Linked DNA regions of Homo sapiens: all the other regions are linked to region 7. Evidence: promoter capture Hi-C in 16 types of primary human blood cells and fetal thymus (Javierre and others, 2016). All regions are on one chromosome and are shown on one strand. Each heading gives the region's core, a stretch centred on a gene start or on the middle of the fragment in contact. The rest is flanking DNA. Distances are from core to core; before and after follow the strand shown.

Region 1 (2,700 bases), core at 21-2,520, 810 kb before region 7:
TAGTGGGAAAGCTATACTAAATATCTGGAGTCTTTAGTGGGTTTTCAGAGTTATGTCTAATCACTGAATTCTCAGCAGATGTTGAAGAGTTAAAACGGTTGCATTTCAAAAGAAATAGTTGCATTTACTATATGGTACTGTAATATGGTTCTTTTGATCACCATATTGTGATTTAACTCAGACATGTTCATTGTTTGTGCAATTTCTCCAAACCCCTGAAAGATGATATATATCCCTCTGGCAGGAAACCAACACTCTAGAGTGGCACTGGGTTATTTAACCACCCTGATAAATAATTTACACTTGGGGATATTATGCAGAAACCTTTTCAATTAACTTGTGTTGACAGAGAAACTAAATATAGTAGTCATTGAATTTTTTTTTAATGCATTCTTGACCTATCAGGCAGAAATAATCTTGTTTAAAATAACGTCCACTCTAGAAAATGAATATATGAAAGAGAAAAATTTTGAATAATAACCATATACGAGAGTTAAATATCTAAGATTGTTTTGATTTCAGAGGAAATTTTAACTTTTTCTAAGTACATCATTTTAGTTCACTAAAAGAAGGATCTGCTGGTTGAGTAAAAAAGCCAAAGGTTCTAAACTCTAAAGATTTTGGTCCAAATCGTGGCTGCAGATGAGTCACTTGAGTTTTCTGAAGCCTTGTTTCCTTATCTATAAATTAGGAATAAGAATAGTTTACAATGTTGTTACAAGAATTAGAGATAATATATGTAAACTATCTCAAATAAATAGTAGTTTTTATTCTGGAAAGAATTTTCCCTAATGAGTTTAATCACATGTCCTATTTTATTCTATTAACTGATGAGCCATGGTCTTAGGGATTTGCAAGAATGTGGCACTATTTTAAAAAGAAAATAAGTCTTCTTTAGTTTTTTTCCTACGTGTAAACTTATTTGAAAATTAATTAACAGCTGGAGTAAATTAATACTAAATATGGCAAAATTAATTGTGTTGGCTTTAGCAAGTCACATCTGTCAACTGAAGACAGGCTGCTTACTAAAATACACAGGCATCTGCAGAAAGAACTAGAAGATGGAGTCAATAATTTGACTGAACTATACAGAAATTTCCAGGGGAATTTGTGGCAGGATGATGATGATGATGATTATGATTGTCTGTATGCTTTCTTTGTAGACATTCTAGTTTTCCTTGTACTAATTCCCAATTACCATTGACTATCATTGTCAAAAATAATGCCACACTTACTTAACGGCATTTTCATGCTTACTGTTTTGACTGTTCAATACGAGTGTTAAAGAAGAATCCAGCATTGGCTTCACAAGCCAGAAGAGCTCTCTTTTCTTCAATAAAGATGGAACTCATTTCCTAGGGTATAGTGAGAGACCATCTACCAGGACAGCCAAATCAGCCCCATCTACCCTGACCATCAGTAATGTGGTAGACACCTGAGCTTTCAGGTCATTAATTAACTAATTAATTTGTCAACCTAATATTTTGTGAGTGATTGATATAGCCCCATTCCAGATGTTAGCAGGATGCAGAAAAGGTGCAAACAGATTCCTGCTTTCAGTGTACTCACAGTTTAGTGCTTGGCCACTCACAACTAACCTTTGAGTCCCTTCCTATCTCTACTTCTCTGACTTGTTTTGCAGCATAAACACAGGAATAAATATTCCTAAGGTAACCAAGGATTCGGTCATGAATGTCTTTCTAATCCATTCACACTACCCAAAACACTTATGCAGGATTATCCATCACGAGTCATTCTACAGTCCTAATCACATTGGCTGCTGAAGGAAGCCTCGTATTAATTACATTTTTCCTAAATGGAAAACAGCTGTGATGAATTAATCTATTCACCAGAAATCTCATATTAGGAAATGAAGTCTCATATTTCTCATATAGGAATATCTATATCCTGATATAGATTTTTCTCAACTGTCAGTGTCTCCAACTGGAAGAGGAAGAATAATATCTTCCTCTACCTTACCTGTGTCTTTGAATGTGGCTGGTTCACTTGGCCCCTTCTACTTCTCTGTCATACAGCAGAGACAAAATGTTTCCTCAGCTAGACTAGAAACATTTAAATGATAAACACATATTTTTTTAAAAAAATGTCACTCAGATGCAGTAAAGTCAGCAAAACAGAACACATAATTACAAGGCCCACTTAAAGAGACACATCCAGAGCATAAATCTCCTGCTTAAGGATGGGCCTAATGCAGATATTACTGCTAATGCCACTAAACATTCAGTCTCAGAAGTCACTTCCTGTGCTCTGATTCTAGAAGAACTAATTAAGATTCTGAGTATAAGTTGGCTTCCCAAATGGATTTTCTTTATTGGGATACATTTTGCTACCCAAAGAAAAGTTTCCTGTTCTTTTGTTGGTTTCTCATTATTGACAGATATTTTGACAAATTCAAATATCTGAGGCTACTAAGCTAAGGCTTCAACATTGTACAATTGTGATTAAAGAAATGTCATACTGATTGCCTCTCTTCCCCCAACCCACCCCCAGCCCTTCAAGTAGTAATACCGAATTTCTTTGTGCCTTCTATATATGCCATGGCTTGGTCATTTGCAAAGTGATTTTAATTACCAACTTATGTTTTTCCTTTCTGGTCAGCAATCCTGGTAGATTATATTTGTTATATGAAACAGAATCCATCCCAGATATTTTAAGGAGGAACAGAAAACATTAAAGTAG
Region 2 (2,700 bases), core at 50-2,549, 850 kb before region 7:
ACATTGTGGTTTCAATATTTATGTCTCTGATTGCCACTGAAGTTAAACCACTTTTCATAAGCTTATGGCCAATTTAGAAAGACCAGTTCATATCTTTTCATTATCTTTTTGTATTCATTTGTTTCTTTTTTTCTTCAGGATGTATGTAGTTCTTTAAATGTTCTGGATGGCTGATATTTGTCAGTTGTATGTGCTGCAGATACTTTTCAATTCAGTGGTTTGTAGTTTTACTTTTAGTGTTATCTTTTTAACTTTGATATCTTTGATACATAGAAGTTTTTTTTTTTTTGAGATGGAGTCTCGCTCTGTCACCTAGGCTGGAGTGCAGTGGCACGATCTCGGCCCACTGCAAGCTCCGCCTCCCGGGTTCACGCCATTCTCCTGCCTCAGCCTCCCGCTGTAGCTGGGACTACAGGCGCCCACCACCATGCCCGGCTAATATTTTTTGTATTTTTAGTAGAGACGGGGTTTCACCGTGTTAGCCAGGATGGTCTCGATCTCCTGACCTCATGATCCACCCGCCTCAGCCTCCCAAAGTGCTGGGATTACAGGCGTGAGCCACCGCGCCCAGCCCTAAGCTCTTATTTTTAATAACGTTAAATTACTAGTTGTTTCTTTTATGACTCATATAAATTTTTGTCTTCTTTATTCCAAGACCATGAAGATATTCTCTTATATTATTATAGAAAACATTTATATAATTTTATTTCATTTATATAGTTTCATCTCTCTTAGATATTTAAATGACATGCAACAATTTTTGCATACCAAGTGAGATAACAGTCTGATTTCACTTTTCCATATTGTTGGTCAATATACTTATGCATCATTTATTGAAAATAATATGTTTCATTTAATGAAATAAAATGCAACTTCTATCACAGTTCAAGGGTTCATATGTACATAATTTTGTTTGAGTTGTACTGTTTGCTACTTCCTTGCCCTGAACCAATACCACAGTCTTAATTATTATAGCTTCACAGAAAGTATTTATTTCCTTTAAAGCAAATACTCTTCATTTGTTATTTTCTAGAATGTCTTTGTCACTCTTCTCCTTTTGCTTTTCCATATACATTTAAAAACTACTTGTCAGACTGGGCACCGTGGTTCACCTCTGTAATCCCAGTACATTGGGAGGCTGAGGTGGAAGGATCACATGAGGCCAGGAGTTTGAGGCCACAGCGAGTTATGACTGTGCCACTGCACTCCAGCCTGGGAGACAGAGCAAGATCCTGTCTCTGAAGAAAAAAAAATGATAAACAACTTTTCAAGTTCCACGCACACACATCCCTCTTTTAGAATTTTGATTGACATTGCACTGAACCTATAAGCCAATTTGGGAAGAATCAACATTTTTAAAATATGAAGTCTTCCAGATATCATAAACACAGTATATTCTTCCAATTACTTAAGTCTTCTGCAATAACTCTTATCTAAGTTTCACAATATTTTCTGTAAAACTTTTGCATAACTTTTGCAAGATTTATGTTTAGATATTTTCTATTTCTTGATGTTATTATAAATTGTATAATTTAAAATTTCATTTTCTAGTGACTTACTGCAAATATATATACATATATAATGTATAAATATGGTAATGTATAATGTATATATGATAATGTATATATGCAATATATATTTTGTAAAAATCATATATTTGTTGACTAGCTAAATATATATATAATATGAGATCCCAGAAACTTTTCTTTCTTATAATTTGTCTACAGATTCTTTTGAATTTCCACATATGCAGCTGTTTCATCAGTAAATAATGACAATTTTGTTTCTGTCTAATTCTTAACATTTGTATGATGTCTTTCTGTTGCTTTATCCCACTGTTTATGATATTCAGTATAATCATTTTTTAAAAGGGGAGCAATAGCCCTCCTTGTCGCAGTACAAAACTCAGAAGGAAAACTTTCAACCATTAATTATATTTGTAGCAGGCTTTTTATTAATATAAACCCTCTTTTAATGATATTTTCTTCCAACTTTTGTTGCCAAGATCTTTTAAATAATGAACTGTTCTTTTAAAAATTGTGCTGAATAAATCGTAACACAATGGTATTTGTTTATCTAAACATAGAAAACATACAATAAAAATATAATATATATAATATAATGTTTAAAAAATTGTGTCCAATATTTATTTTTTGATTTTTTAGGGTTTTTATTTTTATTTTTTTTGAGAGAGAGGAGACTGAACTTTTATCAGCTACTGAGAGAGGTGTGTTAAGATTTCTTCCTCTGATTCTGAATTTACTTATTTCTTCTGGTAATTTTGTCAACTTTAGCAAACTATATTTGAAGCTATATTAATGAACATTTATAAATTTAGAGTTGTTATATTTTCTCAGTAAATAAAATTATGTATTATTATAAAGTGATGCTATTTATATTTTATGCATATTGCCTTATAATCTATTTTGTTCGGTATTAGTATAGCTATAGCAGTTCCTGTGGGTGATCAGTATTTATTTTTCATGTTTCTACTTTGAATTATTTGTATCTTTATGGTTTATATATGTGTCTTATAAAAAGCTTCCACATGAATATTTTAATCTGTCTAATAATCTTTATTTTTTAATTAGAACATTTATTCTATATTTATATTGTATGTTATATATGGATTTATCTTTTATATAATTTTGTCCTTTCTATTTGTTCTTCTATATTGTTTTCTTCTTCTGTCTTAACTTT
Region 3 (2,700 bases), core at 188-2,687, 770 kb before region 7:
CCACATTTCTTCAGCCCCATGGCAAGATTCTAAGACACTCGGTTCACTCACCTTTTTCTGTTTGAGAGATGTTTGACTCATTTTTTTACCTGTTGAAATTCTTTTGTTGTTATCCACATTTTTGTCTCCCCAGCTCCATTTCCTGTCACTTCCCTTGCTCAGTCTAGCTTTGCATTTAGAATGTCAAATTTATGACATCATATGTGATTCCATAGTAACAAACTGACTCTATGAATATGTGATTAACCTTTTCTTAAAAAACAAAAAATAAATGTTTCTTCATTTTGAGTGTATCTGCTCATAGCCATTGTCTTTGTTTTCAGAAATTGATGTCTAAACATTGTTCAAATGTTCAATATGTAGCAATATCAATATTACCACTTCCTTTTTAAATCTTTTTAAGCATTTCTCTGCCATTCATTATATTAATCCCATTTGTGACTGTCTGTTTCCTGGTACTGCCAAAATGAATGGCAAAGTCATTTGTGGATCCAATCATTTATCCATGTTCATTCTGCCAGACAGACTTTGGAGGGCTTTTCTCAGATCTAGAGACTATTTTTGACAGCTGGGATTTTGTTCCAGACATGGAGTTTAGACTTGAGTTTGAGTTTAGCTTTAATGTCTCATGTTTCTTTCAATGGCAAAACCTGTTGAGGAAGACACTGTCAAAGCCCCTTCCCCATGGCTAGACTCAGTGTAGAATGTTACCTTTGCTGCCCCATCCTTAACCCTTAACCCTGGGCTGCCCCATCCTTAACCCTTTAAACACTAAAGCTAAACTCAAACTCAAGTCTAAACTCCATGTCTAGAACAAAATCTCAGCTGTCAAAAATAGTTTCCAGATCTGAGGAAAGCCCCCCAAAGTCTGGGAGAGTGAACATGGATAAATGATTGGGTCCACAAATGAGTTTGTGATTCATTTTGGCAAGTAACAGGAAACATACAGTTACAAATAGAATTGATATTTGTAAAAAGTAGCCCCTAACTCTGGTTTACAGAATCTAAACATGTTCTCCATTTTAGTTTTCTCCTTTTATCTTCACCCAAGCTTTAGATAGGAGACATGTGCCATGCCAACCTGAGCTGGTGAAATCATCAAGGACTGAGGCAGGTTTCCAGCCTGTTTTCATGGGACAAGTTGATAGCTAAGGTTGAATATCGGAAGTTGTTGATGGTTTTAATTTAAGTTATCCAAGGAGTCTTTTAGTTAGTAAAACATTCAGGCTGTAGGTAAGAGTGCCTGGGTTTAAGTTATTTCATCTCTCCCCTACTCCCCACTGTACACCCAACCCCCAGCATTCTACCCAAAATTTGTACAGGGGTCATTTGTTTTTGCATGGTTATGATGTTATTGTGTAATATTTGTATAAGTTATGTAGACAATCAAAGTTGTAAGTGCTATACGTTTCAGAGTAACTTCAGAGAACCTTACCTTTTCTATTAAAATCACACCCCTAAGTACCAAGAGCATCTTTATTTTCTTAGTATGCTGTGTTTGGGGCCAGAGCAGCTAATGTGAATTTCATCTCATTGTAATTAGGTGTTTTATTTCTACTATTCAGGATTATAAACTCATTATGGCTTCTTAGCACTCCTTCGAGGGAGAGAGCAGAGGCTTCTGTTATAGGTTTCATGGGTAGGACTTCACTTAGGGAAGCCTGACATCCCAAATCTAGGGCTGTGGGCTGGAGTCCCTTCCTCCACAGTCTGGAAGCCTAGGCAAAAGCATGAACTGACCTGAGTCAGAGGTTTATGTGACTCACAGTTCTGCAGACTATACAGGAAGCATAGTGCTGGCATGTGCTTCTGGCGAGGCCTCAGGAAGCTTCCCAATCATGACAGAAGGCAAAGAAGGAGCAAATGTGTAACACGACAAGAGCAGGAGCAAGAGAGAAGGGAGGAGGTCCCAGATTCTTTTGAACAGTCAGATATCCTCGTAACTCATTACCATGGGAAGGCACAAAGCCATCCATTAGGGATTGACCTTCATGACCCAAACACCTCACACTAGGCCTCACCTCCAACATTGGGAGTCATCTTTTAACATAAGATTTGGAAGGGACAAATATCCAAGCCATGTAATGGGTTAAGCATGTTCTTGTCGCAAGACTTTTAAATTTGCTGCTCCATCTGCTGCAGCGGCCCATATATACACGTGCCTTAATTCCTTATTTTTTTAACTCTGCTCTCAAGCAGTCTCCTCAGAGAGGACTTCTCTGACTGTCACTAAAAATGATACCTCATTTCCTTCATCTTTTAACCCTTATGTCCCTTTATTTTCAATCATAACATTTATTTCAACCTGACTTTGTTTCACAAGAGTTTATTTGCTTATTGTCTTTTCTGGTCCCGCTGGAGCGAAAACTGCTTGTGAGAAGCGACCTATACATCTTTTCTACTGCTGCTTTCTTCTTGCCTAGAATAGTTACTAGGAGGTACTTCCATAAATATTTGTTGAATAAATACATGAATCTTTTAAGAAATGCGTTTACTTAACAGTGATAAGCAGGATACAGAATATTATGGTAACAGTAGTGGTGGAATTTTTTTTTTTTTTTGAGACAGAGTCTTGCTCTGTCACTCAGGCTGGAGTGCAATGGCAAGATCTCAGCTCACTGCAACCTCCACTTCCCAGGTTTAAGCGATTCTCCTGCCTCAGCCTCCCAAGTAGCTGGGATTTCAGGCATGTACCACCAT
Region 4 (2,700 bases), core at 91-2,590, 690 kb after region 7:
AGCCACCGCTCCTGGCATCCTTTGATCTTAAAGATATTCACCAACGAACGCCTACCTTGTGCTCACATGTAAGCCCTGGCAACTTATCTCTGATTAAAGTTGATATTTCTAAATTACATGTTTAGCTTTTCAAAAAATACATAAAATTAACTGTAATCTTACAATACAAAATTTCTCTGAAAATATCCAACTATGTACTAACTATTACAAATATTTATTCCTGATTCACTTTTTCCTTTCACTGTATTCAGGAAAGAAAGTTAATAAAAATGTAATTTAAAAAGAATGATTAAGCTGGGGACAGTGGTGTGTGCCTGTAGTCCCAGCTGGTCAGGTGCCTGAGGTGGGAGGATTGTTTGAGCCCAGTTCAAGGCTGCAGTGTGCTATAATCATGCCATTGCACACCAGCACAGGCAACATAGCAAGACCCCATCTCTTTAAAAAAAAAAAAAAAAGATTAAATTATTAACTTCTAAACTTGGCAATATGGAGAGGTATAGAATGCAGCAATATTTTAGCAGCATGGGCTGCGGATTCACCACTCAATGTGTTAACAGTACTGTAAATTTAATCAGTCAAATCAGGTGGTGTGCATTGTTTTTGAAAGCTTCTACATCTTATGTAAGTGTGTACAATAAGAAATCTGTTAGATTTGACTTGTTACAAAATAACTGTATCAGATCCATGGAAGCACAGGGCCTGAAGAGAGGAATTCTTTGTTTTCTTCTTTCACTGCCACACCTATTCCAGAAGATTCTCTGGAGACTTTAAAAAAAAAATCATTTTTCAGTTTTCCCACAGTAATTTGCCCAGAGCCAGTATCTACTGAGATAATAATTAAAACAGTGTGTCTGGTTTAAGGAGGCATCCAGATAAGGGCTTCCCATGCAGAGAAAGCACCCACAGGAGGGTCAATCTACAGAACTAAGCAAAGCCTGTTATCTGATAAAGATCAAAATTGACTATCTTTAAAACGTTTTTTAGCCATAAAAAAGGATTAGTTCATGTCCTTTGCAGGGACATGGATGAAGCTGGAAACCATCATTCTCAGCAAACTATTACAAGGACAGAAAACCAAACACCGCATGTTCTCACTCATAGGTGGGAACTGAACAATGAGAACACTTGGACACAGGGTGGGGAACATCACACACCTACACCAGGGCCTGTCAGCGGGTGGCGGGCTGGGGGAGGGATAGCATTAGGAGAAATAACTAATGTAAATGATGAGTTGATGGGTGCAGCAAACCAACATGGCACATGTATACCTATGCAACAAACCTGCACGCTGTGGACATGTACCCTAGAACTTACAGTATAATTTAAAAAAAAAAAGTTTTTTGTTGTTGTTTACTGTTACATGCAGATACAACTGAGTATTCACAATATTTTTTGGAGGAGACATTCATTCAACAAATGTGTAATGAACACCTCAAATGTTTTAATTAATAAGTTAGCCATCACACACATTTTATTTTGAGACAGGGTCTCATTCTGTCACCCAGGATGGAGAGTAGTTACTGCGATCTAGGCTCACTGCAACCTCTGCCTCCCCGGCTCAAGTGATCCTCCCACTTCAGCCTCCCCTGTAGCTGGGACTACAGGCATGCACCACCACACCATGCCCCGCTAATATATATATGTATGTATGTGTGTGTGTATATATATTTTTATATGTTTTATATATATTTATATATTATATATCTATATATAAATATATATTATATAAATATATATATAATATAATATATAAATATATATATAATATAATATATATTTTTTTTTGGTAGAGAGGGGGTTTCGTCATGTTGCTCAGGCTGGTCTCGAACTCCTGGGCAATCCACCTGCCTTGGCCTCCCAAAATGCTGGGATTACAGGCGTGAGCCACTGCCCTTATAAAGACATCACCCTCTTCCCTCCAGGAGAACATCTTGCTGTAGAGAGAAAAATAAGAGAAAAGGACAATCCTACCAATGTGTACTGAGTACTATTTAATAAGTACATACAAGAAGGATCCAGAAACTTTTGCAGGTGCACCGTGAGAAAAACAGATCCCCCTGGCTAGGAAGTAAAGAAAGCTTGGCTGGGCATGGTAGCTCACGCCTGTAATCCCAGCACTTTGGGAGGCCAAGGCAGGCAGATCATGAGGTCAGGAGATCGAGACAATCCCGGCCAACACGGTGAAACCCCGTCTCTACTAAAATACAAAAAATTAGCCCGACATGGTGGCGGGTGCCTGTAGTCCCAGCTATTTGGGAGGCTGGGGCAGAGGAATCGCTTGAACCTGGGAGGCGGAGGTTGCAGTGAGCCGAGATCGCACCACTGCACTCCAGCCTGGTGACAGAGCAAGACTCTGTCTCAAAAAAGAAAAAAAAAAAAAAAGGCCGGGCGCGGTGGCTCACGCCTGTAATCCCAGCACTTTGGGAGGCCGAGGCGGGTGGATCATGAGGTCAGGAGATCGAGACCATCCTGGCTAACAAGGTGAAACCCCGTCTCTACTAAAAATACAAAAAATTAGCCGGGCGCGGTGGCGGGCGCCTGTAGTCCCAGCTACTCGGGAGGCTGAGGCAGGAGAATGGCGTGAACCCGGGAAGCGGAGCTTGCAGTGAGCCGAGATTGCGCCACTGCGGTCCGCAGTCCGGCCTGGGCGACAGAGCGAGACTCCGTCTCAAAAAAAAAAAAAAAGGAAAGTTTTACCAC
Region 5 (2,700 bases), core at 174-2,673, 640 kb after region 7:
GAAATGGTCCTTTGCTGCAACATTTTTACTCTTAACATTTTACAAAGATCCAATATAGGGATGGGAGATCATAAATTCATTAAATATAATCTATCATCTATCCACCTGTCTGAATCCTATTGAACCTTTTAGGGACAGCCAGTCCAAATCCCATCTTAGTTAATCAGTCAATAAACCAGGAAGTATCTATTGAAGATCAACTACATGTCCATTATCCCTGTACCCATAAGATGGGTATATATAATACTTGTTCAGTGTCTGTCGTGCCTGATAGTCTCTAAGCTCTAGCAGGGCATGGGTTCAGTGGGATAGTCTTAATTACAACACTTCATAGAAAATTGTAAACCTGGATTGTAGAAAAATTGAAAGTTGAGAAATGGATCTCAAACTCCATTTCTCAAACCTGGGTTGTAGCAAAATTGAAAGTTGAGAAATGGAGAAATGGTGCTTATAATAGCACCAGAAGGAATAAAATAGTTAGGAATAAATATTTTTAAAAGTACAAGACTTGTACACTGAAAACTACAAAACAATTTTGAAAGAAATTAAAGAAGACCTAAAATAAAATAAAATTAAATTAAATTAAAGACATACCATGTTAATGCAATGAAAGACTGTTAAAATGGCAGTACTCTCCAGGAAAAGATGCCTCACCTCATTAGTAACCAGGAAATGAAAAAAACATCCACTGGATTGGCAAAAATTTAATTCAACAAAACCAAATGTTGGCAAGCAAATTCTGACAAGCAAAAGCATTGAGGGGAGGGTGGGAATGAGTGAGTGCAGGGCATGCTCCTGGACCATCAAAGAGCCCACTGTGGCTGGACCAGGATGCAGGAAGAAGCAGTGAATCTGGGGGCAAATGTAGTAGAAAAGTTTTAAAAGCCAGGATGAGAGAAGTAGTTACCATGGGCTGAGGGGAGCGGGTGATGGGCAGTTATTGTTTCATCGGCACAGACTTTTATTTTGGGATGATAAAAAATTTCTGGAGATGGATACTGGTGGTGGTTGCCCAACAATGTAAATGTACTTAATGCCACTGAACTATACACTTGAAAATAATTGAAATGGTAAATTGTATGTGTATTTTACCACAATAAAAAAAATTCAGACTTAGGCAGAAAGTTTAGTTATTAAGAAAAATGTGAAAAACAGAGAAGACAGAAACAGATCATGGAGGGTAGGCTGCCTGGTATAGGGGTATCATTGTTTTATTCTGTAGACCAGTGGGAGCCACTGGAGAATTCTGACAGGGAGAAAGAATCACAACTGTGTCTTAGACAGAAAGAAAAAAGCTTGCTCCTGAAAAATTTTCCTACCAAAGGAAATAGCCTTAAAGGGCTGATCCTCACCTGAACATGTTTTCTTGTCCTCATTTAAGGTGTAGCCAGGATAGCAATCACAGTGGTAGGATGCGGCCCCATCACTCACACAAATGTGCTGGCAACCATGAGAGCCTAGGGCACACTTGTCACGGACTGACCGCACGTGGTGCAGGAAAGAAAATATTCACACATTAAATAGAAAAGTAAACACAAATGTTTGAGAGGAGAAGCTTCCATTTGGTCCCCACAAGTGCTGAGAATGTAGTAGTCAGTAGTCAGCAACAGGCCCCATGCTGCAGGAGCAAGCCTGTTTTCTCTTCCCATACCTCTCATCCCTTTGGCCTCACATCACACACACTCCTTTCCTTTATATCTCTCACAGATATCTAAGGGTACCTTTCCTTTTTTTCTACCCACAGCACTGGGCAGCACTGAGTCTTGACTATATTCCAGAACTTACCTCCAGCCTTTCCCGATGACTATCAATGCTTCTAGCATCCCCAGCTACTCATGGATCATCATCATCATCACCAAAAGTAATGTTTTAGGGACCTAATCATACATGGAGCTAAGTTTGATGCTGCACAAAAAGCACTATATTGACCAAGTGCCTGCCTTCATAGCTTACAAAGTGTAACAGAAAAGACTGACCAGGAGACACATGCACACACACACACACACACACAAGCACAGATGGGGAAATGATACAGGGTTAGTAATGATGATGTGTATGATTAGAGAGTGAAGTACTTACTATCTATCACAAATAACATTTCAGGGACAAATGCAGTTTGCCCAAATTTGAGTGGAGAGGAGAGCAAAGTGCCATACTCATCCCATGTTCAGACTGGCCTAGGACAAATAAAACAGTAATTCTCCTTTGAAATCCAGAAAGCCTTCCTGGAAGACATAGGTTCCTCCTCTGCCATTGCAGGAACCAAAATAGTTTATTTCCCTCTAATTTTCCTCTTAAATGTCATTTCATGGGCAGAACCTTTTGTGGCTCACTAATGCCTATAGAATAGCTTCTTGTGAAATGTGAGACGCTATATAATCTATACATAAAGTGCCTTTCCAACCTTAATATGGCTATTCCCTTTCAGTGCTACAATTTAGATTTTTTTTTCAGCAAAATGCCTTATAGCAGGGTGTTTCATTTTTTTCCCCCTCATTCCAGGTTAGTACCCACTCTACAGGTGGCAAATGGACATGCTTCCAGCCCCTGGCCCTTATTTGGGGCTCCACATTTAATTTACAAGCCTTCCTACCACTAGCAACGGAAAAGCAGACCATTAGAAGGGATCTGATCCATGGTATGTTCCCCAGCTTTATAGCAGTATTCACTATTACTTTAAAATATATAAATAGGCCAGGC
Region 6 (2,700 bases), core at 177-2,676, 790 kb before region 7:
TATACCAGCTTCCATACAAGCAAGTACAAGCAATTCAAGTAATTTCAAAAAGACATTGACAAAGAACTAGGGTCCACCAATGAGAGAGCATAGAAGCCCTAGGATCCACAGGCACAAGAAGTACACACTCTCTTTTAGGCTTTTCTCCATGGACTTCACTAGATGCTGATGACAAAGACTGCAGGCAGTGGGGTGATAGAATAAAGCCATCCTTGATGGTACAGGTGTGGAGGAGGGGAGCAGCTGCCACTGGGGGCAAAGACTAAAACTCCCCCTAGTTGCTTATACCCTCAGGAACAAAGAGCCTAGACTGCTAGAAGAGCTTCAAACACTGTTATCCTCCAGGGCATGAGTAAAGATCCACTGTTACAGAAGAAAACATTCTAACTTTGGGAGAATAAGAGACTATCAAGGATTGGTACCATTAGATATTGGCTATCACTGGGGCATGGCAAGATCCAGGATGTTCATCCCTAAGCCCTAGGAAGATAGAAGAAATAGCTGGGAAGGGGTAAGAATGAGGAGACCTTCTCTGCAGCAGACACACAGGGAAGGCCTGCTGCTGAAAGTCGACTAGAAATCTTGAGAAAAACCCTCTGGTAAGCCAGTTTGCACCCTAAGAACAAAGTTGATACCAGACAAACTTGGATCCTGTGGTGCCATGAAGATAACCATAGCAACCACAAAACCTAAAACAACTTTAATACCTGATTTGATTGATTCAATCTATCACAATAATTGCTAGTCCCACAGTAAAACAGAACAAAACAAAATGAACAATCTACTTTTAGGAGAAATTAAAAGAACTAGACTTAGTAATGACCCAAGTGTCACAAATATAACAGAGGGAATTGAAAATAACTGTGATTAATATCTTTAAATGTCTACTTTAAAGGTGGATACCATACATGAGTAGACTAGCAATTTTGGCAAAGAGATTGAAATGAAAAGAGTTGAATGGAACTATATAAAGAGTGCCTAATGGATGTGTCAGTAGACTCAACACAGCTGAAGAAATAATGAGTGAACTTGAAGACAGGTCAATAGAAATTGCCCAAACTGAAAAGAGAAAGAGAAAAAAAGAGTGGGGAAAAAAGAGCAGAGCATTGAAATGCTGTGGGACACACACACACACACACACACACACACACACACACACTCCCCTCTCATATTCAAACCAAAGGAAATATAGACAATTATGAAGGCAGCCAGACAAAAACAGACACATTACATACTAAGGACCAAAGATACAAAATTCATAACATTTGTCATCAAAATCTATACAAATGAGAAGACAATGGAAGAGCATCTTTAAAGTGCTGGGAGAAACACACAGTAAACCCAGAATACTACATTCAGTAAAAATAAAATATTGTTTTAAAAACTAAATAAGATTAAAACTTTTTAGGCAAAGAAAAACAGAGATTCAGTACCAGTAGATTTGTACGACATGAAATGTTAAACAAAACAAAATAAAACAAAAGATCTCCTGGCAGAAGGAATATGATAACAGAGAAAAACCTGATCTACACAAAGAAAGGAAGATCTCTGAAAATGATTAAAAGGAATTTGAATATGAAATACATATTTTTGCCTCATCCTTATTTACTAGACGGTATTTAATTGCCAAAAACAGAAATAGTAGTGGAAAAGAAAAATAAATGTTGCAGTCCCCAGGTCACTAAGCTAAAGGGAAAAGTCAAGCCTGTAACAGCTTAGAGACAACCTGCCTCCCATTCTATTCAAAGTCACCCCTATGCTCACTGAGATAACTACATATCTGATTGCCTCCTTTGGAGAGGCTAATCAGAAACTCAAACCCGCTTGGAGTCTTCCTACCTTTGCTTCAAGCTGTCCTGCCTTTCCAGACCGAACCAATGTTCATGTTACATATGTTGATTAATATCTCATATCTCCCTTAAATGAATAAAACCAAACTGTGCTCTGACCACCTTGGGCACATGTCGTCAGATCCTCCTGAGGCTGTGCCATGCATGCGTATCCTCAACCTTGTCAAAATAAACTTTCTAAATTAACTGAGACCTGTTTCAGATTTTTGAGGTTCACAGTAGCAAAGTATAGAGAGTTTATAGAATAGATAAAATAATATATGACAACTGTAGCACAAAACATGAGAGGCAGAGTTTGGCAGTTCGTTGTTGCAAGGTTCTTACAGTACATATGATGTTGTAGAGTATAACATTGACAATAGACTGTGATTACTTAAAGTTGTATATTGTAAACACTAGCGTAACTAATAAAAAATTTTAAATGAGTCATAAGCCAATAGTGGAGATAAAATGGAACGTAAAAACACACAATAAGTCTGTAAGTAAATAGGGGAAAAAAGAAAAGAAAAAGGGGACTAAGAACAGTTGGAACACAGAAAAAACATAGGAAGATAGTAGATTTTAATCCAACCAAAGCAATGATCACATTAAATTTAAATGTCCTAAAAACAGCAATTAAAACACAGGGATTGCCAGATTGTATAAAATAGCAGCACCAACTGTAATATCTATAAGAAAAATAAGTTAAATATAAACACAATTTAAATATAAAGACATAGATAAAAGTATAGAAAAATCATATCATACAAACATTAGCCCCCCCAAAAAAGCTGGAGTGATTATATGAGTATCAGATGAATATTACATAATGAAAAGATATTAATTAAGATTAAGACAATATAATAATCCT
Region 7 (2,700 bases), core at 110-2,609:
GGGGGTTGTGAACCTGGGACACCTAGCCTTGCACGTGGTTTTGTTCCGCAGAGCCAATGCGCAGCTCTTAGCCTGGGTGAAATTTACCAAATTGTGGCAACAAAGAAACCCTTGCGGCTACTTTACACATTGAGAACCCAACCCGCTACTGCCTGAGCTGCTGAAAAAGGACTAAACGTGGTTTTTCATTCTTCTCCGAGACATTTCCGAGGAGAAATTAGTTCAGCAGGCAGCCCTTCACCCCTTTCCCCCTTCTTTCTCTCCTGACGGCTGGATTAGCGGACAGTCAGGGGAGTAACAGAACTTTTCCTGTCCCCAGCCCGGAGACCCTAGGGCTCCACAGAGTTTCCACTAGTGCTGTGTGTGGGTCTCGAATTGGAAAGCAGTGCTTGCGCCCACTGCATTGCCTCCCTGCACCAGGACAATCAAGGGTTCCGCTCCAGGCCTTGACGACACAGAGCAATCATCCTATGGAGAATATCCCTAAGTTAGAGCGCGAGTGCAAGGCGGGGTTCAGACTCGCAGCCCTGCGCTCTCGGGTCTAGGCGGCCTCATACTAGAGCGCAACTCCTCAAAAGACAAACTTGAACGAAAGCGCTACCGAGCTGGGGCATGCACCTGTCCCTGGCGCGGTCGGCTGCGGCTGTGGCCATTCACTCCCTCTCCCTTCCTTCTTCGTCAACCTGGGCGTCAGCCAGAGCTAGGAGCGCGTCTCAGGAAAGTTTGTGCCCGCTGAAGTTGCTCTGGTTTCTTAAAGGGGGCCCACAGATTGACTTTCAAAGTCCGTGGGCACCTCGCCCGTGATTCCGCAGAGCCGGGCGGGCTGGCCGCAGTAGCGGAGGCCCGCCCCCCTTAATCCCCAGCGGTCAGAGGCCGAGGACCCCGCGCAGGAAGTCCTGAGGCAGCACCCCCAACCACCCTGCTCTCACTTTCACAAAAGTCCTACAGCATTCGTTTGGCAAGAGCTTCCTTCAGGGGCATTGAGAGAGAGGAGGCACCCGCCGAGCAGTGACAAGGAACCTGGGAGTCCTGCCCGCATTCGCTTTGCTGAGCCCAGGCGCCCAGGACTGCAATTACCTTGTTCCGCAGAGGTCCTGGGGCTGAGCACGTCTCTGGGGCTTTAGCTGAAGGGGACTGGGGAAGCCGGAGGCCCTGGAGCCCACAGGCGCCCCTGGAGCTCTAGTGTCCCGACTCCTCTCCTGCCGCGGGGACTCCAAGCGCCGGACACGCGGGAGCGAGCGCTCAGCAGCCCCGGATCCTGCACGCCGGGGACGGTGAGCCTCGCTCGCGGCTCCCTCGCTGGGTCTGAACCAGGAGCAGCTGAGAACGTGCCGGGGAGAGGCCGAGCTCCGACTCACTCATCCCTTAGCACCGAGCCGCCTACTTATTTTAATCCACCACCCTCCCTCCTCCACCACCCCCACCCCCGCCCCTTGCCTCAGGATTCCTCCCCTCCCTCCCCTGCCCCCCAACCCTGCCCTGCGCCTGCGCAATGAAAGACAAAGTTTTTGCTGACCCGGGCAGCAGACTTTGGCAGCTGCTCTCGCTTGGACCCGGCCTCTCCCAACCTGCGTCCCCTCCTCTTCAGTCCCGCGCGACCCCTGCTGCCTTTTTAGGTCCAGAGCGGCACGCCTGGCGCACTGGAGGAAACGGTCCCTAGCAGATGAGAGCGGGCTGGCACCGCACGTTTCGAGGTCCTATACTTGGGCTCCTAGGACACAGCCCGTGCTCTTTGGGAGGAGGGAGGGAGGGGCAGTAGCTCTGTGCACCGGGATCCCCACACCGCGGCTTGGGTTTCAACGCACTTTGGCGCCTGACAGAGTCGCATCTCCTCCCAGAATCTCTTTCCAGAGGCGGCAGACCCCGAGTGTGGAGCAGCTCCTGGCTATCCAAGCGTGCTCGGGGCCAGGGTGTTAACCCAGGCAGCGCTGGTTAATTCCTGGTGCGGGAGGGCCAGGGTCACCGAAGCAAGCGAGCTGTAACATCTGAGTGCTTATGGTTGACCCCAGACCCTAAGTTCTGGAGTCCAGTAGAAAGAACAAAGAGTAGGGAAAGGAGGTCAGGAAAGTTATTTTCCTGGGGCCCAGAACTCTCTGAGATTTCACCCCAATGCACAGTGGCACTCTCTACTTACATATTTGTTTTAGGATGGATCAGAGTTTAGAGAGCCGCACTGGCAAGCTAGACGAGCTGCAAAGTTGTCAGTTCCAGGGCCTCTGAGTCAAGGAGCTGGTTCAGGTGGAGTTTTTAATCGGAAAGGAATCAGAGTTCTGGACATTAAAAATTCTATCTTCATTGCCTAGGCATTATGGAGGGTACCATCACCCCCTTGACTACCCATCTCTGAAAGCTGACCTCCGGCTGACCCCAGCCCAATCCCTCCCTAATGCCTTTCTGGAATACCCTTCCAGGCCTTGGGTTTGGCAAGGAGGAGTCACTGGTTTCCTGGGACTTGTGTGGGTCCAGATCACACAACTGCACTCTCTGCCTTTGCCCCAGAGTTGCTGCTGAGTGACTCTTGGAGCTGGATCCTAGATTCCGTGGGTCCCTAAGTACTGTACTGCTTCTCTCCCGAGGAGCTTCTGCTATCTCCAGCTTTGGTTTGCAAAGCTAATCTGATTTTCTTGGGAGGTGAAGAAGGTTGTAATACCTGACCTAGGGAGATGGTAATGAAGACTCCCCTCCCTCAAAGGCATAGTT

Evidence for each region. Contacts are between HindIII fragments. The CHiCAGO score rates a contact against its expected background, and 5 or more counts as called.
Region 1: a contact is called between a fragment that was not itself captured here and the fragment with the promoter of OSR1 in region 7, in 15 of 17 cell types (total CD4 T cells, total CD8 T cells, naive CD8 T cells and 12 more). The highest score is 17.3, in total CD4 T cells.
Region 2: a contact is called between a fragment that was not itself captured here and the fragment with the promoter of OSR1 in region 7, in 9 of 17 cell types (megakaryocytes, M2 macrophages, M1 macrophages and 6 more). The highest score is 12.0, in megakaryocytes.
Region 3: a fragment that was not itself captured here is called in contact with the fragment with the promoter of OSR1 in region 7 in 1 of 17 cell types (naive CD8 T cells); the score reaches 5.1 in naive CD8 T cells.
Region 4: a fragment that was not itself captured here is called in contact with the fragment with the promoter of OSR1 in region 7 in 2 of 17 cell types (monocytes and neutrophils); the score reaches 6.0 in monocytes.
Region 5: a contact is called between a fragment that was not itself captured here and the fragment with the promoter of OSR1 in region 7, in 1 of 17 cell types (total CD8 T cells). The highest score is 5.0, in total CD8 T cells.
Region 6: a fragment that was not itself captured here is called in contact with the fragment with the promoter of OSR1 in region 7 in 13 of 17 cell types (total CD8 T cells, naive CD8 T cells, naive CD4 T cells and 10 more); the score reaches 15.5 in total CD8 T cells.

The regions. Positions count from the first base shown.
Region 1 is chr2:18,542,639-18,545,338 of GRCh38, forward strand. No RefSeq gene overlaps it. Among named protein-coding and RNA genes, the nearest start is that of RDH14, 17 kb to the right of the region's middle. The HindIII fragment of the contact is 5,341 bases long and covers 1-2,700 here.
Region 2 is chr2:18,507,320-18,510,019 of GRCh38, forward strand. The region is part of intron 6 of LOC105373454 (a long non-coding RNA gene); the gene reads left to right. Among named protein-coding and RNA genes, the nearest start is that of RDH14, 52 kb to the right of the region's middle. The HindIII fragment of the contact is 2,480 bases long and covers 60-2,539 here.
Region 3 is chr2:18,589,388-18,592,087 of GRCh38, forward strand. The region is part of intron 2 of LOC105373456 (a long non-coding RNA gene); the gene reads left to right. It overlaps NT5C1B-RDH14 (NT5C1B-RDH14 readthrough), which reads right to left and starts at 182. Exons shown (of 11, transcript NM_001199104.2): 1 at 52-182. The coding sequence starts at 81. NT5C1B (5'-nucleotidase, cytosolic IB) reads right to left here and starts at 182. Exons shown (of 9, transcript NM_033253.4): 1 at 52-182. The coding sequence starts at 81. The HindIII fragment of the contact is 777 bases long and covers 1,050-1,826 here.
Region 4 is chr2:20,045,027-20,047,726 of GRCh38, forward strand. All of the region lies in intron 1 of LAPTM4A (lysosomal protein transmembrane 4 alpha), which reads right to left. Among named protein-coding and RNA genes, the nearest start is that of LAPTM4A, 5.3 kb to the right of the region's middle. The HindIII fragment of the contact is 1,471 bases long and covers 606-2,076 here.
Region 5 is chr2:19,995,782-19,998,481 of GRCh38, forward strand. MATN3 (matrilin 3) reads right to left here. Exons shown (of 8, transcript NM_002381.5): 6 at 1,353-1,478. All of the region lies in intron 1 of WDR35-DT (WDR35 divergent transcript), which reads left to right. Among named protein-coding and RNA genes, the nearest start is that of WDR35-DT, 6.9 kb to the left of the region's middle. The HindIII fragment of the contact is 260 bases long and covers 1,294-1,553 here.
Region 6 is chr2:18,566,967-18,569,666 of GRCh38, forward strand. All of the region lies in intron 9 of NT5C1B-RDH14 (NT5C1B-RDH14 readthrough), which reads right to left. All of the region lies in intron 8 of NT5C1B (5'-nucleotidase, cytosolic IB), which reads right to left. All of the region lies in intron 2 of LOC105373456 (a long non-coding RNA gene), which reads left to right. Among named protein-coding and RNA genes, the nearest start is that of RDH14, 7.7 kb to the left of the region's middle. The HindIII fragment of the contact is 3,270 bases long and covers 1-2,700 here.
Region 7 is chr2:19,357,264-19,359,963 of GRCh38, forward strand. OSR1 (odd-skipped related transcription factor 1) reads right to left here and starts at 1,360. Exons shown (of 3, transcript NM_145260.3): 1 at 1,078-1,360. RefSeq lists enhancers at 1-38, 704-1,232. The HindIII fragment of the contact is 8,359 bases long and covers 1-2,700 here.